5 separate regions of the Homo sapiens genome follow, and regions 1, 2, 3 and 5 are each linked to region 4. Evidence: promoter capture Hi-C in human tissues and cell types (Jung and others, 2019). All regions are on one chromosome and are shown on one strand. The core of a region is centred on a gene start or on the middle of the fragment in contact, and the rest is flanking DNA. Distances in the headings are between cores, read along the strand shown.

Evidence for each region. Contacts are between HindIII fragments. The study calls those that stand out against the background at their distance.
Region 1: a fragment that was not itself captured here is called in contact with the fragment with the promoter of THAP11 in region 4 in 4 of the 25 tissues and cell types used here (dorsolateral prefrontal cortex, hippocampus, lymphoblastoid cells and 1 more).
Region 2: a fragment that was not itself captured here is called in contact with the fragment with the promoter of THAP11 in region 4 in 3 of the 25 tissues and cell types used here (aorta, lymphoblastoid cells and spleen).
Region 3: the fragment with the promoter of SLC7A6OS here is called in contact with the fragment with the promoter of THAP11 in region 4 in 1 of the 25 tissues and cell types used here (stomach).
Region 5: the fragment with the promoter of HSD11B2 here is called in contact with the fragment with the promoter of THAP11 in region 4 in 2 of the 25 tissues and cell types used here (ovary and spleen).

The regions. Positions count from the first base shown.
Region 1 is chr16:68,328,863-68,335,203 of GRCh38, forward strand. It overlaps PRMT7 (protein arginine methyltransferase 7), which reads left to right. Exons shown (of 19, transcript NM_019023.5): 6 at 204-312. It also overlaps the pseudogene RNU4-30P. Among named protein-coding and RNA genes, the nearest start is that of PRMT7, 21 kb to the left of the region's middle. The HindIII fragment of the contact is 4,800 bases long and covers 1-4,593 here.
Region 2 is chr16:68,147,220-68,153,090 of GRCh38, forward strand. All of the region lies in intron 3 of NFATC3 (nuclear factor of activated T cells 3), which reads left to right. Among named protein-coding and RNA genes, the nearest start is that of NFATC3, 65 kb to the left of the region's middle. The HindIII fragment of the contact is 8,254 bases long and covers 1-5,772 here.
Region 3 is chr16:68,307,362-68,313,100 of GRCh38, forward strand. It overlaps SLC7A6OS (solute carrier family 7 member 6 opposite strand), which reads right to left and starts at 3,585. Exons shown (of 5, transcript NM_032178.3): 1 at 3,374-3,585; 2 at 2,974-3,252. The coding sequence starts at 3,565. PRMT7 (protein arginine methyltransferase 7) reads left to right here and starts at 3,658. Exons shown (of 19, transcript NM_019023.5): 1 at 3,658-3,738; 2 at 4,681-4,815. RefSeq lists an enhancer at 2,590-3,554. The HindIII fragment of the contact is 13,375 bases long and covers 1-5,739 here.
Region 4 is chr16:67,840,263-67,846,343 of GRCh38, forward strand. It overlaps THAP11 (THAP domain containing 11), which reads left to right and starts at 2,058. Exons shown (of 1, transcript NM_020457.3): 1 at 2,058-3,933. The coding sequence starts at 2,293. The coding sequence ends at 3,237. The region is part of intron 1 of CENPT (centromere protein T); the gene reads right to left. RefSeq lists enhancers at 1,772-1,821, 2,274-3,020, 2,732-2,891, 3,332-3,381 and a silencer at 2,072-2,251. The HindIII fragment of the contact is 20,232 bases long and covers 1-6,081 here.
Region 5 is chr16:67,427,597-67,433,163 of GRCh38, forward strand. HSD11B2 (hydroxysteroid 11-beta dehydrogenase 2) reads left to right here and starts at 3,525. Exons shown (of 5, transcript NM_000196.4): 1 at 3,525-3,917. The coding sequence starts at 3,653. RefSeq lists enhancers at 419-953, 954-1,488 and silencers at 3,194-3,243, 3,464-3,643. The HindIII fragment of the contact is 17,409 bases long and covers 1-5,567 here.

The DNA.
Region 1 (6,341 bases), core at 944-3,443, 490 kb after region 4:
TGCCTGGCACGGAATGAGAGTCCCTAATCACAAGTTAAAGCCAGCTGAATCTCAGCCCTTTTTCATGATGCACATTTGGAGAATAAAGTATTTAAGTTACATATCTTAGGACCAGAATCAAGGAATAGCTTGCTCACCTTAAAGGTCAGACTACTGTTTAATTTATTGCTCATTTTTCCTTGGGTTTCGGCTCTATTTTCTAGGTTTTCAAGCCTATGGCTGATGCTGCTGTGAAGATTGTGGAGAAAAATGGCTTTAGTGATAAGATTAAGGTTATCAACAAGCATTCCACCGAGGTGACTGTAGGTCCAGGTGAGATTTACACACCCTGTGTTGAAAGCTTTGCTTGCTCTTGTGTGAGAGAGGAAAAGGGTTATTCCAGTTACCTGGAACAAATCCAGGTCATAGCATAGAAGTGGGACCTCTCTGTGTGGAGCTCTGACAGTAAGGACTTGGTTTCTCTTGATGTTTATTTTCCTGCTAGTTAAAACTAGTCAACAAGGAGTAGACTAGAGCTAGTCAGGTCCAGCAATGGAGACGCAAACAAAACCTACATTTGCTTTAAGCAAATTGGAATTCTTATGGGGCTCAACTCTTGAGTTTCAACTACCAATAATTACGCCTTGGATAAACCTCATTGGCTACGATACTGCCACTGCTCAAAGCTCAACTCTGAGTTTCATCAGGCAGAAAGTACTTAGTTCTTTTATTTATTTATTTTTTTGAGAGAGAGTCTCACTCTGTCGCCCAGGCTGGAGTGCAGTGGCGCTATCTTGCCTCACTGCAAGCTCTGCCTCCTGGGTTCACCCATCCTGGCTAACACGGTGAAACTCTATCTCTACTAAAAATACAAAAAATTAGCCAGGCATGGTGGTGGGCACCTGTAGTCCCAGCTACTGGAGAGGCTGAGGCAGGAGAATGGCGAGAGTAGTTCTGACATTCTGCTTCTGCATACAACATGAACAATTTTCCTGTATAGCATTGTCTCTTAAGGTTTCCAGAATATGTATATGTACACACACACACACACACACACATATTTTTTTTTTGAGACGGAATCTCACTGTGTCACCCAGGCTGCATTGCAGTGGTGCAATCTTGGCTCACTGCATCCTCCACCTCCTGGGTACAAGTGATTCTCCTGCCTCAGCCTCCCAAGTAGCGGTGATTACAGGTGCCTGCCACCACACCTGGCTGCTTTTTGTATTTTTAGCAGAGACGGGGTTTCACCATGTTGGCCAGGCTGGTCTTGAACCCCTGACCTCAGGTGATCCGCCTGCCTCAGCCTCCCAAAGTGCTAGGATTATAAGCGTGAGCCACCATGCCTGGCCTCCAGAATATTTTTTATAGTCTAGAACTTTGTTTCAGTCTTTGAAAATTTCACATGCCACTGACACTTAGAGAACATAGTTGAAAGATTTGCAAAGGAAAAACTGTGGTGAAGTTATGGATAACACCATGGGTTTTTTCTAATTTTTTGTGGAGATAGGGTCTTACTATGTTGCCCAGGCTGGACTCAAACTCTTATGCTAAAGTGATCCTCCCATCTCAGCGACCCAAGTACCTGGGACTACAGGTGTGCACTACTGCACCTGGCTTTTTCACCACGGTTTTGGAGAATGCAGTATCATTCTGAATTGAAGCTTCTACCTAAGGTCAACATTATTCTCCCATTTAACAATTTTTTTTTAATGGAGAATCTGAAACATGTACAAAAGAAGTGGGTACTATCTTATTTATTTATTTATTTGAGACAGAGTCTCACTCTGTTGCCCAGGCTGGAGTGCAATGGCAGGATCTCAGCTCACTGCAACCTCTGCCTCCCATGTTCAAGCGATTCTCCTGCTTCAGCCTCATGAGTAGCTGGGATTACAGGCGTGCACCACCATGCCTGGCTAATTTTTGTATTTTTAGTGGAGACGGGGTTTCACCGTGTTGGCCAGGCTAGTCCCGAACTCCTGACCTCAGGTGACCAGCCTGCCTCGGCCTCCGAAAGTGCTGGGATTACAGGTGTGAGCCACCGCGCCCGGCCTATCTTTTTTATTTTTAAAATATACAATAGAGTGCTCAAATCATTCCATTTACAATCAACGTTATTGAAGTATGATTTACATTAAATGAATATCCATTTTCATTATGGATATTTGACAAATATAAACACACTTGTAACCACCATCACCATAATGAAGATAATAGAACATCTCCATCATGCCCAAAGAGATTCCTCATAACCCTTTCTATCAGTCCCCCCATATCCTGGTCCTAGGCACCCACTCATAGACTTCATTATAGATTAGATTTGCCTGTCTAGGATTTCAAGGAAGTGGAATCAAAGAAGTGTGGACTCTTCTGTGTGTGTGCTCTCTTTTTTATAGCGTGATGCTGGTAAGATTCTTCCACACTGTTCATGTCTTGGGGGTCCGTTCTTTTGTGTTACTGAGCAGCACTCTATTAGATAGATGTACCATAACTTGTTTATCTCTCTACCTGTTGATGGACAGGGATTTCTTGGATAGGTCTTTAGATTCACTGATCTTTTCTTTTGCAGCATCTAATATGCTGTTAAGTATATTTAGTAAACTTTTCATTTCTCTTTCTTTGTTGTTCTTTTTTTTTTTTTTTTGAGACAGGATCTTGACCTGTCCCCCAGGCTGGAGTGCAGGGGTGTGAGCATGGCTTATTGCAGCTTTGACCTCCTGGGCTCAAGCAGTCCTCCTGCTTCAGCCTCCTGTGTAGCTGGGACCACAGGCTCATGCCACCATGCCTGGCTAACTTAAAAAAAATTTTTTTTTGTAGAGATGGGATCTCAGTTTGTTGCTTAGGCTGGTCTCAAACTCCTGGGCTCAAGCGATTCTCCCACCTCAGCATCCCAAAGTCCTAGGATTACAGGCGTGGGCCGCTGTGCCTGGCCTCATTTTTGATATTGTATTTTTTAATCTCTGAAAGTTCCACTTGATTCTTTTTCATAACTTCCATTTTTCTCATGTTCATAGTTTTCTATAAGCACATTTATTTTAGCTTTTTGAACATCCTTATCTTCTGTTCCCACCATCTTTGTTTTTTCTGGGTTTGTTCTCTTGACTCATTTTTATCCTTATTCTGGGTCACATTTTCCTTCTTCACATGTCTAACCATTTTTGTTTGGATGCTGTGGCTATTTGGAATTCCCCATTGTTGAGTGCTAGACTTCGTTGGTTTTGCTTTTTAAACTTTGGCATGCAGTTGGGTTACTTGCAGTTCAGATTGATCCTTTCAGGGCTTGTTTAAGCTTTCTTTGGAGTGGGGTTAGAGTAGCTTTAAGTCAGGCCTTCTCAACAGTAGTGCTGTGACGTTTTGGCATTCTCCAACTATGTGACATTTTGATAATTCTTTGTTGTGGACCCTGTCCTTTGCATTGTAGGATGTTTAGCAGTGTCCCTGGCCTCTTCCCAGTGGATGTCAGTAGCACTCCCCTCCTCCCACCATTCTTGCCAACTAAAAATGTCTCCAGACTGCCACGTCTTCCTTGGTCTCGAGTGTGTAAAATTGCCACCTGTTGAGAACCACTGCTCTAAGGCTGTTTAGCCAGACAGTTACTGTAACCTTTCTGGAGTGTCTGCTGAGAGCTCTAGGTGCTCAGCAGGGTTTCCCTTGTCTGGCTGATCAGAACTTGAATGTTTCCCAGGCCTCTGAGAGCTCCGGAGATTGTTATCACTCATGCAACCTTTGCTCGGCTTCACAGAGTATTACCCTGTGTGTGTGTGAATGTATTAACACAGACCCTAGAGGAACCCTGTGCAGCATTCTGAAGGCTTTTTTTCTGTGTAATTTCCTCTCTGATTCTCTGCCTGGCAAGTTCCAGCTGCTTCCACTTCCCTGAACTCGTTTCCTGTCTGTTTAACTCAGCAAGACTGCCGTGCTCTGTGTCACCTCTTACCCTATACTGTGGTCTGGAAAGGGTCTCCTGGCTGATAGCCAGAGCAGGGTAAGGGTTACTTGGTTTGTTTCCCTTCTTAGGGAGCAAACTGTGTTGCCTCTTGCTCAACATCTGAAAACACTTGTTTCATATATTTTGCCCAGTTTTCTAGTTGATAACAGCCGGAGGGTAAGCCTGATCCCACTTATTCCACTATGGCCAGAGTGGAGATTGATTCATTTATTTATTTTTTTTTGAGACAGTCTCACTCTGTTGCCTAGGCTGGAGTACAGTGATGCGAACACAGCTCACTGCAGCCTCGACTTCTGGGCTCAAGTGATCCTCCTGCCTCAGCCTCCTGAGTAGCTGGGACCACAGGCAGGCGCCACCATACCCAACTAATTTTTTTGTTTTTTTAAATTTTTATTAGAAACTAAGTCTTGCGGCTGGGTGCAGTGGCTTATGCCTGTAATCCTAGCACTTTGGGAGGCCGAGGCTGGCGGATCACCTGAGGTTGGGAGTAGCAACCAGCCTGACCAACTTGGAGAAACCTGTCTCTACTAAAAATACAAAATTAGTCAGGTGTGGTGGTGCATGCCTGTAATCCCAGCTACTGAGGAGATTGAGGCAGGAGAATTGCTTGAACCTGGGAGGCAAAGGTTGCGGTGAGCCGAGATTGCGCTATTGCACTTCAGCCTGGGCAACAAGAGCAAAATTCTGGCTCAAAAAAAAAAAAAAAGAAAAGAAAAGAAACTAGGTCTCGCTTTGTTTCACAGGCTGGTCTTGAACGCCAGGCCTCACACAGTCCTTCTGCCTCAGCCTCCCAAAGTGCTGGGATCACAGATGGGAGCCACTGTACCTGGCGAGATCATTTATTCTTGAAAATTTATCCATTTTGACGGCAGGGAGACTGATCTGCAGGGCAGCCTTGGCCATGAAGTATGCTGACTCTGCCTCCAGGCAGCATTGTTCACACACACCTCAGCTTAGGCCAGGCCCCTCATATGATTTCTTATTAAAAAAAAAAATTTTTTTTAGATAGAGTGGCTCTGTCGCCCAGGCTGGAGTGCAGTGGCATGACCTCGGCTCACTGCAACCTCCACCTCCCGGATTCAAGTGATCCTTCCACGTCAGCCTCCTAAGTAGCTGATATTACAGGCATGCACCACCACCTGGCTAATTTTTGTATTTTTAGTAGAGATGGGGTTTCACTATGTTGGCCAAGCTGGTCTTGAACTCATGACCTCAAGCGATCTGCCTGCCTTGGCCTCCCAAAATGCTGGGATTACAGGCATGAACCACCACGCCTGGCCAATTTCGTAATACTTTTCTTCATAGCGCTTACCACTGCAATCATTAAATCATTATGTAGTTATGTATTTAATGTCTGTATCCCCACCCAGCTGAGGCATCCTGAGGTCATGCACTGCGTGGGTTGTATTAACTATTCCATTCCGTTATTTGCTCCGGGCCTGTCATGTAAAGGAGTTAGGTAATTTTTGTAAAGTGAGTAGATTGTCAGTTGTGCTTCATCCATAATCCCTTGTAAATGTGACTTTGTTTCCGATCCTCAGCCTGACAAGTGGCTTCCTCATTGCCAAGTTGGGTGGTCTTTCCTCTGCTTTTCCTCTCTAACCACTGCCGCTTTGGTACTTCTGCCATTCCTTCCTTCTTGAAACTCTCCCTGGACCTTAGTGACATCTCTTCATCTTGGTTCTCCTGTGTTGCTTTCTTTCTGCTCCAGATGTATACTTTCCAAGGTTCTGCTCTCAGCCCTTTTTAAAAGTGGCATCTGAAGTTGCCTGTTCCCCAGAGCTGGGTTACATGCTGAGGCTTGTGGAGAGCCAACCCAGGGAGCAGCGTGTGTTCATCCGTCCATTTTGTTCATTTGGAAAGGGCTTAGGAAGCTCCTGGGGTGGCTACCTGCTTCAGACTCCCCCACCCCGTGCCCTTATACATTAGCAGTCACACTCAAAATACCAGGCCCTCAAGAAGTACTTGTTAAAATGCACTGGACCATAAAGCTTGAATTTTTTTTTTTTAATTTTTATTATTTTTTGAGACAGTCTCACTGTATCACCCAAGATGGAGTATGGTGGGGCAATTTCAGCTCACTACAACATCTGCCTCCCGGGTTCAGGCAATTCTCATGCCTCAGCCTCCTGAGTAGCTGGGACTACAGGCGCGTGCTACTACACCCGGCTAATTTTTGTATTTTTAGTAGAGACAAGGTTTCACCACATTGGCCAGGCTGGTATCGAACTCCTGGCCTCAAGTGATCAGCCCAGCTTGGCCTCTCAAAGTGCTGGAATTACAGGTGTGAGTCACTGTGCCTGGCTCTTGATTTTTATTTTAATGAAGCAATTTGGACTATAAAGCATTTTAAGTTATATAATTGGTTTAAACATTCAGGAGATAGAATTGGCAGAGTGGGTGATCAGTGGGT
Region 2 (5,871 bases), core at 396-2,895, 310 kb after region 4:
AGTACTTGCCAGTATGTTATTTGATATCTGGATAACTTAATAGGTAATAGCAAACTTTTTTATTTATATTCTCTATTTTAGATTTAACTACCTCATTTTGACGAGCTACTTTAATGCCTATAATTTTTTTGTTGGTTTTTTCTTTTTCTATATAAGAGCAAATTGCCTACAGTTCTTTTAGAAATAATGTATTGACTAACTTCATGAGTTATTTTGCTTCACCAAATTGTACTCTGTTATTCTAAAATTTATTCTTTCAACAATGATTGAATGCCTGTAATGTGCTAGGCGCTCTGCTAGGCTCTGGAGATAACAAGATGGATACTGTCCTCTTCACAGTGCTCACAGGCAAGTGGTAAAGTTGTTGCTGTTTATTTCTCCACTTGATGAACAGTTGGTCATGTAGAATAATTTGTTAAATTTATGATTAAACATGAAAGAGCAACAGGTATACCAAAAAGGAATGACTAATCACTGAATAGATGAATGTGAGGAAGTTGCCTAATCATTGTTAGCTTCAGATTATCTGTGAACTGAAAAAAAAAAAAAAAAAAAGACATATAGTCCACAGGAGTTTTTGGATGCAGTGAACTATAACCACTCTCTACCTTCATTTTTTTTTACCTCTGGGTATAAATCTGGATGAATCTCACGTGGCATTATTACTTACCCCATCTGCCGCCAGATAAACCAAAAGAGTAATGGCTGAAATTTGTTTTTGCACAGATACACATAAAATATATGCCCAAACTTTTCCAGTTTCCTTTTAGCTATTGATTTATTTAGGATTTATTTATTTATTTATTTAGAGATGGAGTTTTGCTCTTGTTTTGCACTCCAGGCTGGAGTGCAATGGCGCGATCTCGGCTCACTGCAACCTCCGCCTCCTGGGTTCAAGCGATTCTCCTGCCTCAGTCTTCCTGAGTAGCTGGGATTAGAGGCATTCGCCACCATGCCCGGCTAATTTTGTATTTTTAGTAGAGATGGGGTTTCTCCATGTTGGTCAGGCTGGTCTCGAACTCCCGACCTCGGGTGATCCACCTGCCTAGGCCTCCCAAAGTGCTGGGATTACAGGTGTGAGCCACCGTGCCTGACCTAGGCTTTATTTTTGTTATTGTGATGATATTGACATTTTATAGTTTTATGGAATAGTTTCCATAATTAAAGCTTTGAAATTTATTAATTTTACACTAAAATGTGTAAAAAAATTACAAATGAGAATACTGATAGATTTCTTGACTACATAAAAATTAAAATATTTACAGAAAATGGAAACATAAATGTAATAAATTGAACAGGTTTACTTTCACTAAACATAAGACAGCTGTAGCTTAAGCCTGCTGGCAGGTGAGAAAGAACCAATAAGCAAGCAGCACAAGTCATTTTGCATCTGAGAACTCTGGAAAGGTTCAGGAATTTGACGTACTGGATATCTCTGAAAGTGGGATGTGAGGTGAGACTGAAAACAAGAAGATTGGATAAAAAGTCTATAAAAGAAGGAGTTAAGACCGGGCACGGTGGTTCACACCTGTAATCCTAGCACCTTAGGAGGTTGAGGCGGGTGGATCATTTGAGGACAGGAGTTTGGGACCACCTGGCCAACATGGTGAAACCCTGTCTCTACTAAAAATACAAAAAAATTAGCCGGGCATGGTGGCTCATGCCTGTAGTTCCAGCTACTCAGGAGGCTGAGGCAGAAGAATTGCTTGAACCTGGGAGGTGGAGGTTGCAGCACCACTGCACTCCAGCCTGGGCAACACAGCGAGACTCCATCTTAAAAGAAAAAAAAATTAAATTGAATTTAAAAAGGACTTAAATTTCCCAGATGTTTCTTTCCTGTGTGGTACAGCCTAGTGATAATGCCTGTCTTACCCTGAGAGAATCTGGTGATTCTATAGAGAGAATGAAGTGGAGGTTCTAGATTCTAGGAGAGCTAAAGGCTAGGCTTAATGATCTGTTCTTAAAATGGGGTGGGGGCGGAAGGGAAGGCATAATGGAAGTCTGCATACTGAAGAGTGAGACCTCTGACCATTTTATTAGTTCCCACAATGCTTGCAATAGGTTTACTATGCTCCCTAGGCAGAAGACTGCAGGATGTGTTTTAGGCAAACTCACTGGTCCAGTAGAAGAGACCTGTAGATTCTAAGAAATAAACTTTACTTTTAACATGTTTAAATTACTGTTACTTTGGATTTTTGTTTATGCAGCCAAACTTAATCCTAATATAAAAGGCAATTATTAACTGTAACCAAATAAGTTGTATGAAAAAGGAAATATAATTAAAATACACTACAAGGCTGAGCTGCAAGTAACATGTATCCAGTTATAATGCAAACACTGAAAGTTCAAAAGATAATATATCTAACCTTGAAAAACATTAGGAAATAGCAGTATTAACATGTTCCTTAGAAATATGGAAGTAAGTTCCAAAAGAAACAGTGAAAAGGGTTACAAATGGTTCCCTTCTGAGGAGCAGAAATTGATCCAGAATTGGTGATAAATGGAAAACAAAACCATATTTATAACTTGTAAGGCAGACAAAGGGTTAATATGCTTAGTATATCTAAAGGGCTTGTAAAATTAATAATACTAAAATAGAAACAGAAAATGAGCAAATCATATAAACAGCCACAAAGGGGAAAAGTTGTCTGTGTAGACTATTACCACTTCTCTGTTCTTTGCTTTTTTGATAGGTTAGAAGTAGTTTTCTTATTTATTTGATATTTAATAAGATTGAGCATTTTTCCATTTATTTATTAGCTGTTTTTCCCTGCTTTATATGCTCTACTTATATCCTTTGAGAAGGGTAGTTGGAATTACGATTTGTCATCTTCCTTGAATCTGGAATTGTTTCTGCAGTATGAATTATAATAAAGAATCTTGCCCGTTGCAAAACATTATTATAAACCTTTGGTGGTTATATCCTGAGGTCTTTGTGCCTCTTTGGTTACAAGTCTTCTAGATCAGTGTCTCTCAGCTCTATCAGACCCAGCCCCACTCTCAAAAAAAGCCCCACATCCATTTTGTAATGCTACTTTATTAACTTGAAATGGAGATTTAAAGATAATACAATTAGGCCAGGCACAGTGGCTCATGCCCGTAATACCAGCATTTTGGAAGGCCAAGGCAGGAGGATCACTTGAAACCAAGAGTTTAAGACCAGCCAGGGCAACCTAGTGGGACTTCTATATCTAAAAAAAAAAAAAAAAAAAAAAAGCTAGGTTTGGTGGCACACTCCTGATGTCCTAGCTACTCTAGAGACTGAAGTGGAAGGATCCTTTGAGCCCAGAAACTCAGGGTTGTGTTGAGCTATGATTGTGCCATTGCACTGTAGCTTAGGTGACATAACGAGACCCTGAATCAAAAAAAAAAAGTGATATAATTGACTACACGTATAATTTTAAGAATATCAGTTATAATGCAGTACTATTAAGAGAAAAATAAATATATAAACTAAATTATAGTTGATGTGGTTTGGCTATGTCTCCACCCAAAATCTCATCTTGAATTGTAATCCCCATAATTCCCACGTGTGAAGGGAGAGGCCAGATGGGGGTAATTGAATCACTGGGGTGGCTTCCCCATGCTGTTCTCTTGATAGTGAGTTCTCATGAGATCTGATGGCTTTGTAAGTGTTTGGTAGTTTTTCCTGTATTCATTCTCCCTCCTGCCACCTTGTGAAGAAGGTGCCTTGGTTCCCCTTTACCTTCAACCATGACTGTAAATTTCCTGAGGCCCCCCCAGCCATGGGGGACTGTGAGTCAATTAAACCTCTTTCCTTTATAAATTACCCAGTCTCGGGCAGTTTCTTATAGCAGTATGAGAATGGACTAATACAGTAGTTTAAAAGTATGGCTGGGCATTGTAGCTCACACCTGTAATCACAGCTACTTGGGTGGCTGAGGCAGGAGGACGTTTGAGTCAAGGAGTTCAAGACCAGCTTAAGCAAAACAGTGGGACCCCATCTTAAAAAAAAAAAAGTTTCAAAGTGAAAAGCCTTGATAATGACTATAGAAGACACAGTGAAGTAGTTGGACGCTTACACATGCTTGATAATGACTATAGAAGACACAGTGAAGTAGTTGGACACTTAACACCTGCACTATCAGTGTGAGTGTTGCCAGGTACAAAGGCAGGCGTGTTGATCATCACCCTAAATTCCCTGAGTGGCATTACTGACAATGACATGATTTTTTGAAATGATGAACTCTTTACATGGTAAGTTGTACTCATGAAAAATTCATGTATCTTAAAATTGCATCTTTTGGGGGTATTAATATATACTAAGGAGTTCTAAGTTTATAAACATTTTCCTTATACATGAATGTCTGATGGGATATTCTCAAATTCTGTGAGATGTAGACTATTCACTTTGAAGAACTATAGTTATCCCATGTATTGAGATAAAGTTGAATCTCTGGCCCTTTCTCCTTAAGTATCTGTAGTGCACCCCACTTATCATGTTGACAACTAAACGCATCTTCACAACATTTAAAAAATGCCTCTGCTCCACCACCACCCTCCCCTGCAGAGGGTGATACTGTCCAAGTTAAGAAATACCATTCTAAGTCGGGCACAGTGGCTCACGCCTGTAATCCCAGCACTTTGGGAGGCCGAGGCAGGTGGATCACCGGAGGCCAGAAGTTCGAGACGAGCCTGGCTGACATGGTGAAACCCCGTCTCTACTAAAAATACAAAAGTTAGCTGGGCGTGGTGGCAGGCACCTGTAATCCCAGTTACTTGGAAGGCTGAGGCAGGAGAATCACTTGAACCCGGGAGGCAGAGGTTCCAGTGAGCCTGGATGGCGCCACTGCACTCTAACCTAAGTAAGTGAGGCTCCGTTTCAAAAAAAAAAAAAAAAGGCTGGGTGCAGTGGCTCACGCCTATAATCCCAGCACTTTGAGAGGCCAAGGTGGACGGATCACTTGAGGTCAGGAGTTCAAGACCAGCCTGGCCAACATGGTGAAACGCCATCTCTACTAAAGATACCAAAAAAAAAAAAAAAAAAAATTAGCTGGGCATGGTAGTATGTGCCTGCAGTCCCAGCTACTAGGGAGGCTGAGACAGGAGAATCGCTTGAACTGGGGAAGCAAATGTTGCAGTGAGCCAAGATCACGCCACAGCACTGCAGCCTGGGCAACAGAGCGAGACTCTGTCTCAAAAAAAAAAAAAAAAAAAAAAAGTACCATTCTACTGGGTATTAAAGCATTTGCTCGGAAGAGAAGGAAATACCATTCTAGACCAGGGGTTATCAAACTATGGCTTTTATAGGCCAAAATGGGCCCTACACCTGGTGTTTTGTTTTTAAAGAGAAAGAGCCTTGCTCTGTCACCCAGGCTGGAGTGTAGTCGTGCAATCATAGCTCACTGCAGCCTTGAACTGGCCTCAGAGGCAGGAATGATCCTCCTGCCTCAGTCTTTCAGGTAGCTGGGACTACAGGTGCATGCCTTCACGTCTGGCTCTACCTGTTTTTGTACAGCTTGTGAACTAGGAGTGGTTTTTATACATTTTTACATGGGTGGAGAAAAAATCAAAAGAATACTATTTTCTGATGTGAAACTTATGTGGAATTCCAAAGTAACCATCCATAATGATTGTTTTTCATTTATGTATTGACTGGTTACTTTTGTGTTACAGTGACAGAGTTGAGTAAGACAAGAGAACATAAGTGGCACTCTCATCACTTCACACTACCGCTCAGGGCAGTATAAATCACAGTGATGCAGTTAAAACTCAATAGTGTTTCAAGTGCCACAAGTATTGCTGCATTGGGACTTTAAAAAAATAATAATCAGTACATACTCATCATGTCAAAACAAGAAAAAGCAGATATCGAATGTCATTCTTTTGAGGCACAGTGGACTGTGTGTT
Region 3 (5,739 bases), core at 2,335-4,834, 470 kb after region 4:
ATCTTGGAGGTGAGACTACTAGTTAAAAGGAACTGAAGTCCTTTAATTTTTAAATTTCCTATTAAATTTATCTAATAGGAATTTATTTGCTTAAAATGTAAATTGTGTCAATTTAAGGAGAAATTCATTGTAACATAACATAGAAATGCTGTCATTTTTAAATTTCCTTAGAAATTTTTAATTTTAAAATTTTCCTAGATTATGCATGGCTTTAGATCCAAACAATAATAAATTTACATATGTAAAACATGGCTCCCATGCCATCCTGTTTTCCAAAAGGCTTGCATCAATTTTATTCCTACAATTGTGTACGCTTTTAATCATTGCCTTGCCAGCATTGCTATCAACTACTTTTTTCCTGCTAGTCTAGTATGCATAAAACCTCAAGCATGCTTTAAGCTTAAATTCATTTTTCCCCTATAATTACTCTGTGCAAACATTTTTGGTATGTTTAGAGTCGGTATTGCTTTACTGGAAAAATCTCTGTTCATATCGGTCATCAGTTTATCTCCTAGTTTTCTTTATAAAATTAAATTAGCTATTTACTCTTGTTTTTTGAGATGGAGTTTTGCTCTTCTCGCCCAGGCTGGAGTGCAGTGGTGCAATCTTGGCTCACTGCAACCTCTGCCTCCCGCGTTCAGGCGATTCTCCTGCCTCAACCTCCCGAGTAGATGGGATTACAGGCGCCCGCCACCACGCCCGGCTAATTTTTGTATTTTTAGTAGAAATGGGGTTTTGCCATATTGGCCAGGCTGGTCTTGAACTCCTGACCTCAAGTGATCCACCCGCCTCAGCCTCCCAAAGTGCTGGGATTACAGGCATGAGCCACTGTGCCCGGCCTAGTGAACTATTTACTTGATTCAATTCCACGGAGCATTGGTTTACTTTACACATTTTGTAAGTCATGCATTAGTCTGGAATGTTTTGGTGAAAGATGTGGCTATGGACATCATACACAAATTGCTATCCACTTACACTAGCACCAGCTGGACGTGGTGGCTCACGCCTGTAATCCCAGCACTTTGGGAGGCCGATGCGGGTGGATCACCTGAGGTCAGGAGTTCAAGACCAGCCTGGCCAAGGTGGCGAAACCCCGTCTCTACTAAAAATACAAAATTAGCCGGGTGTGGTGGCTCATGCCTGTAATCCCAGCTACTCGCGAGGCTGAGGCATGAGAACTGCTTGAATCCAGGAGGCAGAGGCTGCGGTGAGCCGAGATCGCGCCACTGCACTACAGCCTGGGCGACAAGGGCGAGACTCCATCTCAAACAAAACAAAAACAACAATAAACAATTACACTAGTACCATTTGCTTGTTGCTTGTGGATTCATTTTGAATTATAATTGTTTTAAGTTGCAAAAATAATTAAAATGAGTTCTATAAAAATGTTTATCAAGAGAGGGCATATTGGCTAGGCGCAGCGGCTCATGCCTGTAATCCCAGCACTTTGGGAGGTTGAGGCGGGCGGATCACTGAGGCCAGGAGTTCAAAACCAGACTGGCCAACATAGCGAAACCCCGTCTCTACTAAAAATACAAAAATTAGCTGGGTGTGGTGGCTCACGCTTGTAATCCCAGCTATTTGGGAGGCTGAGGTAGGAGAATTGCTTGAACCCGGGAGTTGGAGGTTGCAGTGAGCCAGCATCATGCCAATGCACTCTAGCCTGGGCAACAGAGTGAGACTCTGACTCAAAAAAAAAAAAAAAAAGAGAGGGCACACTTTATGTTGAGAATTTTCTGGTTTTTTTTTTAGAGACAGTATCTTGCTCTGTTGCTCAAACCAGAGGGCAGTGACTTGATCACAGCTCACTGCAATCTCTAATTCCTGAGTTTAAGTGATCCTCCTGCCCCAGCCTCCCCAGTAGCTAGGACTACAAGCGCGTGCCACAATGCCCAGCTAATTTCCTCTTCCTTTTTGTAGTGACAAGGTCTTGCTTTGTTGCCCAGGCTGGCCTCAAGCGACCCTCCTGCCTCAGCCTCCCAAAGCGCTGGGATTACAGGGAGTATTTTATTTTTTTTTGAGACAGGGTCTCACTCTGTCACCTAGGCTGAAATGCCACTGCCGCACAATCATGGCTCACTGTAGCCTTGACCTCCCCAGGCTCAAGTGATCCTCCCGCCTGGGCCTCCCTACGTGCTAGGATTAGGCGTCAGCTACTGTGCCCAGCCTCAAGGAGAATTTTCCATTTCTGTAGTTTTGCTGCATGTAGTAGACTTTTTTTGGAAGTGATTGCAAATGAAGTTAGCAAATGTAATATAAAGAAAAGCACTGGATTAAATGTGAGAAAACTTGCATTCTAGACCTAAATCTACCTCAAACTTGATATGCTATCCAGGACTATTCCTTTAACCTCTCTTTGATCAATTTTCCTACCTGCTCTATCTCTATTTTGCTCCAGTGATCCCCATCTCAGTCAGGGTGAAAGGCAATGTCCTTGCAAGTACCTAGCAGGCATCCTCCCCTCAAATTCCTTACTGCTCTCCTCTAGCTCACCGGGCTCCAGGCACCTTGCAAGGAGCAAAGAAACGGCTTAAGGGCCTCTTTACTTTCAGGTTCTCTGCCTAGAAGTCCTCTCGATATGTGGAATACCCTGCCATTCACCTTCTGCAAGTCTTCACTCAAATGTCATTTCCTCAGTGACACTCTCACTGAAGTGGCACCACTCTTCCTGCTTTGTCTCCCCGCCTCCTTACATCCCTTATCATCATCTGACACTGAATAGACTTGTTTACTGTTTCTGTCTACCTGCATGTTAGGTCCTCACTGCTGTATCCACAGAATCTAAAAAAATACCTGGCATATCGTAGGCACGTAGTAAACACATGTTGGATGAACAACCAAATCTGTAAAATGAGGCCGTCACGCCGGATGGATCATCCATCCCCTTAAGATGAAACTGTGCTGCGACTGGGCCCAGTCTTCTTGCATTACCATCCTGAGAAGCCCAGCGACCACCTTCAGGGGCATACTCACTTTGCAGGAGCCTGCAGAGGCGGCTTCAGGTTCTCCCTCCTCGTGGACAAGGTCTAACAACTGAAAGCCCGAGTTCCCGGCGGCTTCTGGGTTCCCCGGCGTGTACTCGGACTCCTGGCCGCTCGAGGTGGTCCCCAAGGATCGGCGGCTGGAAAGCACCCGGTAGCGGCCCTCCTGCCGGACCTCCCGAGCCGAGGCGCGGAGATTACGGCGGACACGCTGCTGGCTGTCCCGTGACGGGCGCAGAACTTCCCGCAGGAGAGGCTGGACTGGTTCCTCCTAGGGGGCAACAGGGGACGGAGGCCAGCGTAAGCAGGAGTTCGCGAGCGGGTCAGGGATCGGGTTTCGTACCGGCTGCACCCGAAGATGCCCTCCACACCAGCTGCACCACGCCCAATACCTGGGAGCACACAGTGGCCACCAAGTGGAAGACATTATTCTCCGCCGCTCTCTCCAAACCCTCCGACGTCTTCTGTGCCGCTGACTCGACCGCGTCGCTCCGGAGGCGTTTACAAGCGAGCACAAGAGCCTCCGCCGGCTCCGCACTGCGCTTCCGCTTCACCCGGAGTACAGCGGTCCTGGCGGCCTCCATAGTGGCTGCCGCTGAGCACTGTGGGAGCTCGCGGGGTGTGATGGGATAGCTTTCCAGTTCTGCTTTAGGACCCGCCCCCCAGCACGCTCCTCGACGCTGCGAGGTCCCGCCCCGCGTGCTGGCCGCGGTAAAAGTGGTAGCAGCGGAGGCGAGCGGAGGGTTTCCCGCGGCGGGTGAGGCGCTGGGTATGCTGGGAAGGTGGGGTCGCTTTGGGGTTCTGTGTGCAGCGAGCATGGTGTCCTTGGCACCAGGGTTTCGGCAGAGGAGCCTAGCGTGGGCCTACTTGGACTCCTCCGCGTGGGGCAGCTCGGGACACCCGGGCCTGCAGGAGAGCGGGGTTCTAGGCTGGCCCCGGCTCTGCAGTGCAGCCGGGTGCCTGCCACTCGCGGGGCTCTGTCGCAGTACTCGTGCCTGGCGCCTCCCCTCAGCCACAGAGACCGCAGTAGCTCCAACCATCGCACCCCTAACTGGGCCACGAGTTCTCTGATTGCCAGACCTGTTGTCTTTGCCACTCACTGTTCTGAGTAATTGGAGAGTCGTGTATTCACTACACGCCAACCAGAGTGGTCCTGTAAAAGCGTAAGCCTAGTGTAGATACGCTTCTGCTTAAAACTCTTGAGTGGCTCCCAGTGCTTTTAGAACAAAATCCAAACGCCTTTCCGAAGTCGACAAGGCCCAGCTTGATTGAGCAGAAGATGTGATAGGAGATGAGGAGCGGGGGGCTTCTGCAAAAGTGCTTCGGTCGCTCAGGCTTTTGGCACATTTTGCTTATGCAACCTAGTTCTTTCTACCTTAGGGCCTTTTCTTGGGAAAGTTGGGGTAAGGATTCCTGACCTGTAAAAACTCTTCCCCAACTTTTATCCCGGTCTGTCTTGTAGATCTCAAATGCTAGTTTCCTCAGAGTCCTTCTGTAACCTTGGTTTTCTCTTTCTACAACGCTCTGTGTATTTCTTGCATTCATGTAGTCTGTAATTTGTATTACTCTCTCATTAGAGTCTAAGCTCTTGGAGGGCAAGGGTCTTCTCTAGCTTGTGGTGGTGGCTCCAGTCCCTAATATAGTGCCTGGCACATAGAAGGTATTTAATAAATTTTGTTATTTTATTTTTTCGAGACAGAGTCTCACTCTGCTGCCTAGGCTGAGTGCAGTGGTGTGATCGAGGCGCACTGCAGCCTTGACCTCCTGGGCTCAAGCGATCCTCACCTCGGCCTACCGAGTAGCTGGGACTACAGGCACGCGCCACTACACTCGGGTAATTTTTAATTTTAATATATGTATATTTATATATATATATATATATATATATTTTTTTTTTTAAGACAGGGTCTCACTCTGTCACCCAGGCTGGAGTTCAGTGGCGCCATCTCTGCTCACTGCAACCTCTGCCTCCCGGGCTCAAGTGATTCCCCTACCTCAGCCTCCCGAGTAGCTGGGAGTAACTGGGACTACAGGCACAGGCCACCGCGCCCGGCTAATTTTTTTAAAAATTTTTTGTAGAGAACGGGGTCTCACTATGTTGCGCAGGCTGGTCTGGAACTCCCAGACTCGATATCCTTGCGTCTCGGCCCCTCACAGTGCTGGGATCACAGGTGTGAGCCACCACCGCCTAGCAAATACATTTTGAATGAATGTAGTGGACCATCTGCTCTGCAGTCTGACGGCTAATACAATTAGGGCTTGGCATGGTGGTTTCTATTTCCTCCTTGTAAATGGCCATGCAAGTTTACAACTCTTGGAGAATGAGGAGGGGTTCAGAGAATATCTCCTGAATCTGTAGTGTAGACTGCTTCTGGGAGAGAACAAATAATAATGGATGAGGGCATTCAGCCAGAGAAGGTGTGTAGTGCCCACCAGAAGAGGTTCATGCCTTCATAAAATTGTTAACACAAGACATAGTTCCAGGTTTGTTTGTTTGTTTGAGATACAGTCTTGCTCTGTTGCCCAGGCTGGAGTGCAGTGGCGCGATCTTGGCTCACTGCAACCTCTGCCTCCCAGGTTCAAGCAATTCTCCTGCCTCAGCCTCCCAAGTAGCAGGGATTACAGGCACCTGCCACCATGCTGGCTAATTTTTTGTATTTTTAGTAGAGACGGGGTTTCGCCATGTTGGCCAGGCTGGTCTCGAACTCCTGACCTCAGGTGATCCACCTGCTTTGGTCTCCCAAAGTGCTGGGATTAT
Region 4 (6,081 bases), core at 808-3,307:
AGCTGAGATCGCGCCACTGCCCTCCAGCCTGGGCAACAGAGCGAGACTCCGTCTCAAAATAAAAAAAGAAAAAAAAGAAATAATATATATTAGGTTTCTATTTCATGCCTGTGATCTGCTATCAGGAGAGAAAAAAGGACAAGAAAAATTGGGAGGTGACCACGATCATGTCTTTTGTGGGAATATGCATGGAGCTGGGGGCCATTATCCTTAGCAAACTAATGCAGGAACAGAAAACCAAATACCACATATTCTCACAAGTGTGAGTTAAATGATGAGAACTCATGAACACAAAGAAGACAACAACAGACACTGGGGTCTAATTGCGGGGGGCGGGAGGAGGGAGAGGAACAGAAAAGATAACTATTGGGTACTGGGCTTAATACCTGGGTGATGAAATAATCTGTACAACAAATCGCGGTGACACGAGTTCACCTATGTAGTAAACCTTCACACGTACCCCCGAACCTAAAGTAAAAGTTTAAAAAAAATTGGGAGAAGGAAGAACTCGGCAAAGGAGGGCTAGTTTGCAGGTAATTCACCTGGAGAACTGCCTGGCCCCTCCCTGGCTTTCCACAACATTTTGTGTTCTTTAAAACATTTTCCCCCAGCCAGGCGCCGTGATCCTAGCTCACGCCTGTAATCCTAGCACTTTGGGAGGCCGAGGCGAGCAGATTGCCTGAGCTCACGAGTTCGAGACCAGCCTGAGAAACATGGCGAAACCCCGTCTCTACTAAATACAAAATACATATATATATATATATATATATATATATATATATATTAGCCGGGCATGGTGGCATGCGCCTGTAGTCCCAGCTACTCCGGAGGCTGAGGCAGGAGAATTGCTTGAACCCAGGAGGCGGAGGTTGCGGTGAGCCGAGATCTCACCATTGCACTCCAGTCTGGCGACACAGTGAGACTCCTTTACAAAAAAAAAAAAAAAAAAAAAAAAAAAAGATTCCCTCAAATAAGTTGAGGTGGGGGGAGGTGTATTGTTACAATGCAAATCCTTTCCCATAAAATCCTTTAATAGCTCTCAGTGGCCTGCAGAATAAAACCCCAAATCCTTAACATGTCCCAGTTTGGTATTTTCCTACGCTTGGCCCTACCCGGGCCACCCCTTTCCAGGCTCTTTAATGGCGGAGCCTAGCTCTTTTCTGCCATGTGGCCTTACAGACTGGTTCCTGGGACAAGAATTGGCTACTTCTCCCTACCCAAGCTTTCGTTCGTTTTTTTATTCCTGGCCCCCACCACCTCCCCCCCATTTCTCTGCTCTCCTGTTAATTCCTTTGGAGCGATTACTATTTGTGAGTAGACATCCATTCGCGTGCATTCAGATCTATTATCCAAAAGACAGACGCTTATCCGTCTAGGTAGTCAGGCTCCAAGAGAGGAGCCCAGTCGGTCTGACTCCCGCAAACTCCCGGCACCGTGTCAGCCACATAGTAGGCGTCTACTGGAGACTTTGTTTAGATCAGTTAGTCAACGCAGGCAGCAGCTGAATCAGGAGAGAGTCCCCAACGCAAAGAAAGGGGCTCCTGAGACCCTTCGGGGCGCCGAGGCCCAGGTTTCGTCTCCCTCTGCTGCAGCAATGCCGTCGACTCAAAGGGGCTCGGGGCTGGGGAACTGGTTCTGGCAAACAGCACAACCTCGCCCGAATCCTGGTCCGCAGTAACTCGATCTTTCCCTTAGGCGGCGCTTCGGAGGGAAGGCGCCTAGTTCAGCGCGAGGCATCACGGGATTTGTAGTCTCCGTGGGCATATACCCACCGCGCTTGCGCACCGGTGAGGCGCGCACCGCCCCGCTCCACGCCCCTATCAGGATTCGGGTCCTCGTGAGGAGCAGTCCAGGCGACAGCGTTCCAACCTAATACGCCTCTCTCGCCCGCCGGGGACAAGACGGGCTGGGGAAAGAATCTGCTCTTCGGAGGCTATCGCAGTGCCTTGGAAGGCGGCAGGAATCCGCACACACCCGCCCCGGAAGTGAGCCGCTTCTGGCGCGGGGCATTGTGGGGGGCGTAGTCTCTTTCTCAGGCGGTCCTTCGCGGCGTCCCCGGGGCCCACTCCCGAGCGCAGGCGGGCAGCCAGGCGGGCGGCGCGGCGCGGGCCGGCAGGAAGCGTATTCTGGGCACGGGGCGCCGGGCGGGCCGGCTGCGCCGAGCGGCAGTGGTGGGATACCACCCAAGGCCTCGCGCGGCGCCGCCCGTCGAGGGGCGGGCGGCGGCGTAGCCACTGGGCCGTCGAAGAGCGCAGGAGGCCGGTGGGCCGGGCCGGGCCGCGCGGCGCAGCCATGCCTGGCTTTACGTGCTGCGTGCCAGGCTGCTACAACAACTCGCACCGGGACAAGGCGCTGCACTTCTACACGTTTCCAAAGGACGCTGAGTTGCGGCGCCTCTGGCTCAAGAACGTGTCGCGTGCCGGCGTCAGTGGGTGCTTCTCCACCTTCCAGCCCACCACAGGCCACCGTCTCTGCAGCGTTCACTTCCAGGGCGGCCGCAAGACCTACACGGTACGCGTCCCCACCATCTTCCCGCTGCGCGGCGTCAATGAGCGCAAAGTAGCGCGCAGACCCGCTGGGGCCGCGGCCGCCCGCCGCAGGCAGCAGCAGCAACAGCAGCAGCAGCAGCAACAGCAGCAACAGCAGCAGCAGCAGCAACAGCAGCAGCAGCAGCAGCAGCAGCAGCAGTCCTCACCCTCTGCCTCCACTGCCCAGACTGCCCAGCTGCAGCCGAACCTGGTATCTGCTTCCGCGGCCGTGCTTCTCACCCTTCAGGCCACTGTAGACAGCAGTCAGGCTCCGGGATCCGTACAGCCGGCGCCCATCACTCCCACTGGAGAAGACGTGAAGCCCATCGATCTCACAGTGCAAGTGGAGTTTGCAGCCGCAGAGGGCGCAGCCGCTGCGGCCGCCGCGTCGGAGTTACAGGCTGCTACCGCAGGGCTGGAGGCTGCCGAGTGCCCTATGGGCCCCCAGTTGGTGGTGGTAGGGGAAGAGGGCTTCCCTGATACTGGCTCCGACCATTCGTACTCCTTGTCGTCAGGCACCACGGAGGAGGAGCTCCTGCGCAAGCTGAATGAGCAGCGGGACATCCTGGCTCTGATGGAAGTGAAGATGAAAGAGATGAAAGGCAGCATTCGCCACCTGCGTCTCACTGAGGCCAAGCTGCGCGAAGAACTGCGTGAGAAGGATCGGCTGCTTGCCATGGCTGTCATCCGCAAGAAGCACGGAATGTGAACTGGTGCCCCGGCAGCCTGCTGGACTCCCAGACCCCATCCAGCCAGGGGACCGCAGGCCATTGTTGAACTCCTCTATACTCCTGGGCACTGGTTGACAGTACTGAGGCTTAAGGCAGCTGGACTCTCTTGCTGGTGACCTGGCATCCTCAATTGTTTCCTCCTGAAGTGGAAGCTGGGGCCTTAGACTCTGCCCTGGTGACACCAGCAATTATGACTTTGTCTACCCTTCCTCCCCAGTTATTGTTGCAGATTCTGGTTAAGCAGAGGCTTCAGAACCACTGAACTTGAAACTTACCCTCTAGGGATGCAGGTGGGATGTCCAGGGACTATAGGTTTGGGAAAACCATACCTTAAGGTTGGTCAGCAGTCAGACAACTCTAATGTGTGTAGTGATAAGAGATTCAAGTAACATCAGTTCTCCTCCTTTTCATGCTTTTCCTTCCCAGGTGCAGCCTGTGATTCTGATGGGGACTGGTAAATCTGTGCCTCTGCCTCCTAGGACTTATTTTCCCAGGAGGCCATTTACAAGGGGATCTGGATGACCTGCTGATGGAGATCCAGCTTGCCAGGGACTTAGGTTTATCCTGTTTTGTTTGCTACTGGTTACAAATTCTATTTTCTGTACAATTAGTCAGACTAAAGTTTTCACTGTGTTTGTTTGGCAAAACAAATTAAACAAAAAGTAAGGTTTTTATTTGGGTCTCGCCATTTTATTTTTACAAAAACATAGTTAAATGTCCTTGAAACATGGGGAAATAGGCCTCAGCCTTTCTGAAAGACCAGGCTGACCCTGAAAGTAGAGATGCTTCAATGACCAGTTTTTCCAAAAATGGGCCCTAAGCACATGGATCCTGGCCTTATAAGGTCCTCACAGAGTTCCTGGCCCAGCTCACCCTAAAGAGTTTGGAAACTGCACCAAATGGGCCCAGTTTGTCCATGGATTATCTCCCTGTATCCTTTCAACAAGAAGGACCAACTGGTAACTAAGCTATATTGTGATAGTTCGCCTCTGAGGGTTTCAATTCTCAGCTGGGATTGAATTTTGCTCACCATGACATCCCTTAGGCTTAGCACAGCCTCTGGTATGCATGTGCATGCAGTTACTCTGTGAACCGGTAAGAGCGCAGCTGGAGCTAGCCAGGGCTGCTTCAGGCACAAGGACTGTTGTATAGATACCTTGGCCTTGGTACACCTTCGGTGTGACAGAGCTGTATCCACAGAGAGCATTAAGAAGTTGGGAGGTGTGATTCCTTGACTCATTTTCTTGGCTGCCTGCCTCTATTTTTTTTTTTTTATTTTTTTTTAAGATGGAGCTTTGCTCTTGTCACCCAGGCTGGAGTGCAATGGTGTGATCTCAGCTCACTGCAACCTCTGCCTCCCAGGTTCAAGCAATTCTTCTGCCTCACCCTCCTGAGTAGCTGGGATTATAGGCACCCGCCACCACGTCGGGCTGATTTTTGTATTTTCAGTAGAGACAGGATTTCACCATGTTGGCCAGGCTGGTCTCGAGCTCCTGATCTCAGGTGATCCGCCTGCTCTGCCTCCCAAAGTACTGAGATTACAGGTGTGAGCTACCCCGCCCAGCCTCTATTTTTTCTTAGATTGAATATTGAAGGGGCAAGGATTACATTGCTTTTGTCTATAGCTCCAAGTAATTTAGCTCAAAGCCAATGTCTAAAAGTAAATGCCTTTAAAGCTCTGGGTTTACTGTGGGTGGTGGGGCACAAACGGAGACTTTCAGACCCCATAAAATATGACTCCCTTCTCTTTCTTACTTATGGACAAAGCCATCTGCCTGGGGACTTGTCTGTGGCAACATGCTGGGATGGTCCTAAAACTCAAGTCTCTGTTTCCCTTCTAGTCCCTTAGCACTGAGTTGGGAAAGTGGTGGGGAAGGAGTGAGACATAGGTTGTGTAGGTGGCTGGTTGGGGGATGGACTGGACCTCTGTCTTCCTAGGGTTAGATCTGGCTGGTAATCAGGTGGTGGAAGCACTGCAGTGCCCTTTGTTGCTCCTATTGGGCCAGTCTCACATCTTCCCGGTCGGAGCAAGGCCTTTTCCAGGATCCAGCCATGCTCTTCAGTGTATCCTTGAGCTCCTATTTATTGAAGGGACTTCTGCTGTTTCTGCATTGGCTCCCTTGAGGCTCTCAGCAGTACTCCCTGGACCCTCCCTGGTGTCTGGAGGTTATGGGCAGTGTTTTGGCTTCTTAGGGAGAAGAAGACAGTTCACAGAGCAAGGGAGATCCCAGATGCAGATGTATAAGCGGGGCAATGCAGAGTTCTCACTAGCTGAGTAATAAGCATCTAGTCAGGCAAAGTGTAGTGTTGACAGACCTGAGATTTAAAAAACAGAAGTGTGGTCCGGTCTTACCAGCCATCTCTTGGAGGGGTAGCCTGTGGGTGGGGGAAGGTGCAAAACTCTTGTGGAAGAACAGGAGTACTGAGAGACCTCCGGCCAGGAAGGAAGGCTAGGAGTTGCCTGGAGAGGCCTTGTAGCCATTTCCCTTACCTGTGGTACCCCAAGTTGGCTGCAGATCTCTTTGCCAAGCACAGGTCTGACCTAGAGACTGGCCTTACCACAAATGTTTGTGTTACCAAGAAAACAAATGGGCGTTGAAAGGAAAGGGCAATGGGTAGGAAGAGAACTATTTACAATCTGGTCACTTAAATCACAGCGAAATTTTGGGTAAGTCAGTCATTTCTCTTTCCTCATTAATAAAAATGAAACACTTAGCTGCTCTATCTGCTGCAAAAAAACCTTACAGAATGTTTTGGGGGGACCCCTGACTGTAGAAGTTTGAGGGTAACCTCTCCAACCAAGCCCCACCTGAGGGACATTT
Region 5 (5,567 bases), core at 2,275-4,774, 410 kb before region 4:
TCCTGCCTCAGTCTCATGAGTAGCTGGGACTACAGGCATGCATCACCATACCTGGCTAATTTTTGGATTTTTAGTAGAGGCAGGGTTTCGCCATGTTGGCCAGGCTGGTCTCGAACTCCTGACCTTAGGTGATCCGCCTGCCTTGGCCTTCCAAAGTGCTGGGATTACAGGCGTGAGCCACCACGCCCAGCCACAAGAGAGATGCTTGTGGAAAGGGATACGGGCTTGAGGTTCCCAATGGGTGAGGCTAGCGCCAGTACACTTGCTGCTGGGGCCAGTAGTCAGTTGCTATATCTGTGGTGCCCAGCACAGGGCCTGGCATGCAGTAGGAACTCAATACAAGTTTGTTGTCTTTGAGGACAGGGAGCAATGGGGTCTAGGACCCTGGCCACTGGCAGGAAGAGGGACCCTCTGCCATTCTGCCAAGAGGAGGCATGGTGGGGGTGAAGGCGTGAAGCAGAGTGCAGGGCAGGGGCTCCTTGGGAATCTGCAGCCTCTTAGCTGCAGAGGGAAGAGGAGGTGACAAGTCAGTGCTGAGTGCTCTGCTCCAGGAACCCAAGTACAGTCAGAGGACAGAGCGAGAGGGCTCCTGGAGTCTGCCACTTGGTACCCCCTACTGTAGACATCTGTTCCCCTCTCCTCAACCCAGCAGCCGGTGGGTTACCTGGTCTTTAGCTCCTTCAGAGCCGTGCTCTCCCTACACGGCCAGCAGAGGGTACCAGTGAGCTGCTGGACTCCGCTGGAGGAGACCAGAGCCCGCCTGCCCACCCCTTTGTCCTCCAGAGCCTGGGGCGTGCTAAGGGTTTGGTTAACCAGGTTTCTGACCAAGGCGGGTTGGAGGCTGGGACAAAGGACTAAGGGAGGCTGTGGGCTGAGGGCTTAGGGGCCGAGTGGCTCAGGTGCTCTGCTCCTGGTCACCCTTCATTCCTCTGCCCTGCCAGGCCCTGCTTTATCTGTTGAGGCTCCTGCCCACTGCCCCTCTCCGCTTCTCTTCCCTGGAGGCCCCTGACAGCCTAGACTCCTGCTTCTAGCAGAGGCTGGTTTTCTGCCCCTAGGCAGGCACGACTTGGCAACAGGCCTCAGACAGGGCTGGGCCAGCTTCTGCCAGCAATGACTGCCCTAACCACCTTGTACTTCTAGAACGTCTCCACCTAATAAGGGATAAGGGGTCAGTGGTTGAGGAGGCCACAGGAGCTGGAGCATAGGTCCTGGGAAGGAGGAGGCTTGGACTAGGAAGTGGGATGAATGGGCAGGGGGAGTTTATATAAAAATGTGGCAGATGGTCCAGTCCCACCAAGACCCAAATCCCATAAGACTAATGGCTCTGCCTGAGGTGGCACGAGGTTCCAGAAGCTGAGCTGGAAACACCCCCTTCCTCATCCTAACCATGTTATACTCTTCAGCCAAACGCAAATCCCAACATCGCCTCCTGGCAAGTCTGTCCCCATGGTGGCCTTCACGGTTCCTTCCCAGGACAGTGTAGGACCCTGCTTCTGCCTCTTTCCTTATCTTGCCTTCCTGCCCCATCCCCCTACTCTTCAACTCCTGCTTTAGCAAGTGCTGGTTCTATCTGTGTTGCCTTGACCTTGAAGGCTCCCCAGGACCCTCATCTCAGCTTCTACTCCCTTCCTCACTCCAAGGGGAAGACTCCAATGGACTGAGGCTGGAGAAACCACAGCCAGACTCTTGGTGTGGTGGCTAAAGCTGGGGGGTCTGGCCAATCCAATCTCTACAGCTCAAATCAGGAAGTCAGGCCAGGGGTGCTGTGTCTGCCTCCAAGCCTGGGCCATACATTCACCGCAACAGGAATCAGTGACTTTGGAAAAGGAATGTTTCCCTGAGTTTCTAGAGGCAGGATGACCCAGACCGAAGGACAGAGAGTTACCAGAAACACACACAATGCACACAAATGTACTCACTTGCACACACAGGGTCATGGCATAGGGAGTGACACAACCAAATGGCCTGGACAAGCCACAGAGTCCCATGGACACAAGTGCTTACAAACACAGGCACACAAGGTCATGTACCCAAGGTCAGGCACACACACCCTCCTCATTCAAGTCCTGCCTCCCAGGTCTGGGGCTTGCCTGTCATCTGTCCTTAGGAGGAGGGATAGGTGGAGGCACAGGAGTGGCTCAGGGCAAATTGGTCCTCCACCCAGAGACTCTCCCTTTAGGTGGGTCTGGCTCCCAGCCTCCCCTGAGATTTCCCTGGCTCACCAGGGGGCTGTGTCTGGTGGCAGAGAGGGCTTTGGAGGAGGCATTGCCCTGAAACCCTGGCAGAGCCTGGGCACCTAAGAGAGAATGAGCAACAGGGCTAGGAAGTGTGACAGGGAGTCCACAACCTCCCAGGATCTTGGGAGGGCAGGGATGAGGCACTGAGCACGGCCTGGAAGCCCACGGGAAGCAGGGACCCCTCTGTCGAGGGCTACACCTACTGCTCTCAGCATCAAGCCTGCAGCCAGGTACTGGCACCAACTCCCAGTGCCTGGCAGAGCCCTGGCATGGATGCTAGGCACAGGGTGCCAGACACGGGGGTGGGCAGGGTGGGGGGCCACTGGGCCACACACAAGCATGGAGACCTTCACACACGCAGGCAGAAAAATCCACCCACACTCATACCACTTATTTTACCCCCTGGGGGTTCAGGGGAGCAAGGCAGGGACCACCCTGTCCTAGAGGCTGCCTTCACCGACGTCCCTCTGGCCTGGCTCTTGGGGTTGGCGGGGGTGGGCCATAAGTAATGGGAGACCTAGGTGCTTCCTCTGACACCCCACCCTCCACTGACCCCCACACACATACATTTGTGAGGCAGGAAGTGGGGTTGTGCGTCCCCAGGTTTAAGCCCTGGAAGGAAAGGGAAAGACGGGGCAGAGACTCCAAGAACCGGGAGCGGTCGTCCTGTTCCCCCGCCAGCCCCTGTCCCAGGCAGGTTTTGTGGCCGCGAGCTGCTCAGGGGTGAGCGCGCCTTAGGGTGTGTGCGCCAGGGACCTGGCGCAGCCGACCACGTGGGAGTGCGGCGCGTGTACGGGCGCGGGCGGCAGCGGCAGCGGCAGCGGAGACCGGGTGAGCACCGGCTGGTTCCTCGCGGTGTTCCTGCAGGCTTGGCGGCCGCGGTGGTGCGATCAGCAAAGGGCACCGGGATGCCGGTTGTGCGTGTCCTCAGGTGTCCCGAACAAGCGTGAGTGGCATGTGCTCACCTGAGCGCGGCGGCTTGGCGGCCCCGGGCGTGTGGGTGGGGGCGCGGCGGAGAGCTGAGGCCGGGCACCCGGGCTGGACCGACGGGCCCTCTCCCAAGCACCGCCCGCAGCCAGGCGGCTCCTCGAGCGCAGCAACTTTGGGACTTTGTTCCGGCTTTTTCCAAATCGAATCTGGTCGAGGGGGCGGGGCGGGGGGGGAGCACCTGCCCTGCGGGGGGTGCCGGGAGAGAAGTGAAGGAAAGCCCCGCCCCCGCCCCTCCCGCTCCCCGCCCTCTCCCCCGCCCCCGGGGCTCTTCATAAGCTCGGCCCGAGGGCGAGCAGAGAAAGCGAGTGTCCCTCTCGCGCCCCAGGCCGGTGTACCCCCGCACTCCGCGCCCCGGCCTAGAAGCTCTCTCTCCCCGCTCCCCGGCCCGGCCCCCGCCCCGCCCCGCCCCAGCCCGCTGGGCCGCCATGGAGCGCTGGCCTTGGCCGTCGGGCGGCGCCTGGCTGCTCGTGGCTGCCCGCGCGCTGCTGCAGCTGCTGCGCTCAGACCTGCGTCTGGGCCGCCCGCTGCTGGCGGCGCTGGCGCTGCTGGCCGCGCTCGACTGGCTGTGCCAGCGCCTGCTGCCCCCGCCGGCCGCACTCGCCGTGCTGGCCGCCGCCGGCTGGATCGCGTTGTCCCGCCTGGCGCGCCCGCAGCGCCTGCCGGTGGCCACTCGCGCGGTGCTCATCACCGGTGAGTGCGCGGGTCGCGGAGCGCGGGGACTCCAGGCTCGAGGGCGGGACTGGACACTCAACAGGACTGACTCCCCATGGGCACAGCCAAGGCGGGCTCCTCAGCGCAAGAGTGGGAGAGTTCTCCACCCCTGGGTGCAGGGAGCGAGCCAAATAGGGAGCGCCGGGCACCTCCCCAAGCCCGGGTTCACTACCTGCCGCTGCGGGGAGTGTTGGAGGGAAAGTGAGACAGGGAGTGGGCCGGTTCGAGAAGGAAACTGACTGGTGGCTGAGAAGAGGGAACCTCCTGGAGTTTGAGAGTTTATGCCATTCCCTTCCCCAAGAGAGCAGTCTCAGGGGACTTCGGAGGCCTTGAGAAGGGAGGATCGTTACCCCTTGAACTCTGCCTGACATCCCCACCTAAGATACCCATCTCCCATTCCTCGGGCCAGAGGGAAGAGCTTAGATGGGGAACTTCCCCACCCCACCCATCCCCCACTGGCTGGGATCCTTGGAGTTCAGAAAAGCTAGAGGTCACCGTGAGGGGCAGCTGGACATTCAGCTGTCTTTCTGTCTAGCCACCCACTGCCAAACTGCTGAGGCAGTAGTTTGGAGCCTACACCCAGCACCCCACCCCCAAGCCCTCCTGGTCCTCTGTGCCCAGGAAGGAGCTCTTAGAGAGCTGGGCTCAGGTGCCTCTGGCCGCCTAGCTGAGCTCCTTTGTCTGGAGCAGGGAATAAATCTGTCACCAGAGGGAGGGAAGGGGAAGGGGGGGGGGGGCTGGAGGCCCGCCGGAAGTGGGGAGGGGGAGAAAGGCCAGGGGGCACTGACTCCATTGCATCGTGGGAGGAGCAGCCTGGTCTCTCGCCAATACCCACGGCTTTGGACAGGTGCTCCAGGCTTTGTCCTTGCGCTGGGCCTTTGCTGGGGCAGCCAGCAACCTGGCTTCTCAGAGACCTCGGTCTAGTAGGGGCCCTGTGTGATCAGATGGGGCTGGGAGAATTTTCCGGAGGAGGAAATCCTTGAGTGGGGCCTTGGAGCATGAGTGGAGATAAGTGGAGTATGAAAGGGATCTCGGATCAGAGAAAGGATGTGGGACAAAGGCTTAAGGCAGGAGTACACACGGTCTCTGTAGGGGACAGCCAGTCTGGGTGTGGGGGTGGGGAGAAGGGGATATGAGGTGGTTTCCTTGGGAGGGGCCATGAATCAGGTAAGAAGCCAGACTGCTGAGGCAGAGTAGGGGGGAAGGAGGCACAAGGGCCTTGCACTCCAGCAAAGATGGTAGAGATGGGGAAGCATTCGGGCTGGACAGGAGAGACCCAGGTTCCAGGCGCAGTGTGAAGCCTCAGCAGACCCCAGTTTCAGAGGTTTGAGGAAGGAAAATCAACAGACACCCCGGGTATGAAGTAGGGGCCAGGTTGTGGGCTCTGCCTCTGGGGACAGGGCAGATCCCTTCCTGCTTTATTTGTGAGCCACCTCAACAGGACCCAGGCCATCTGCAGGTACTAGTGGCCTAGCTGGGTAGTCTTTCCTGAGGTCTCACCTCAGGCCTTTGTGCTGCTGCTGTTGCTTCTGGCCTTGAGCCTGAGAGAGAGGTGAGAGGAAGGATGCTTTCTCTAACTTGGGCTCCTCCAATCTCTGGTTGCAAAGCTGGGGTTGGGGGAGAGAGGAC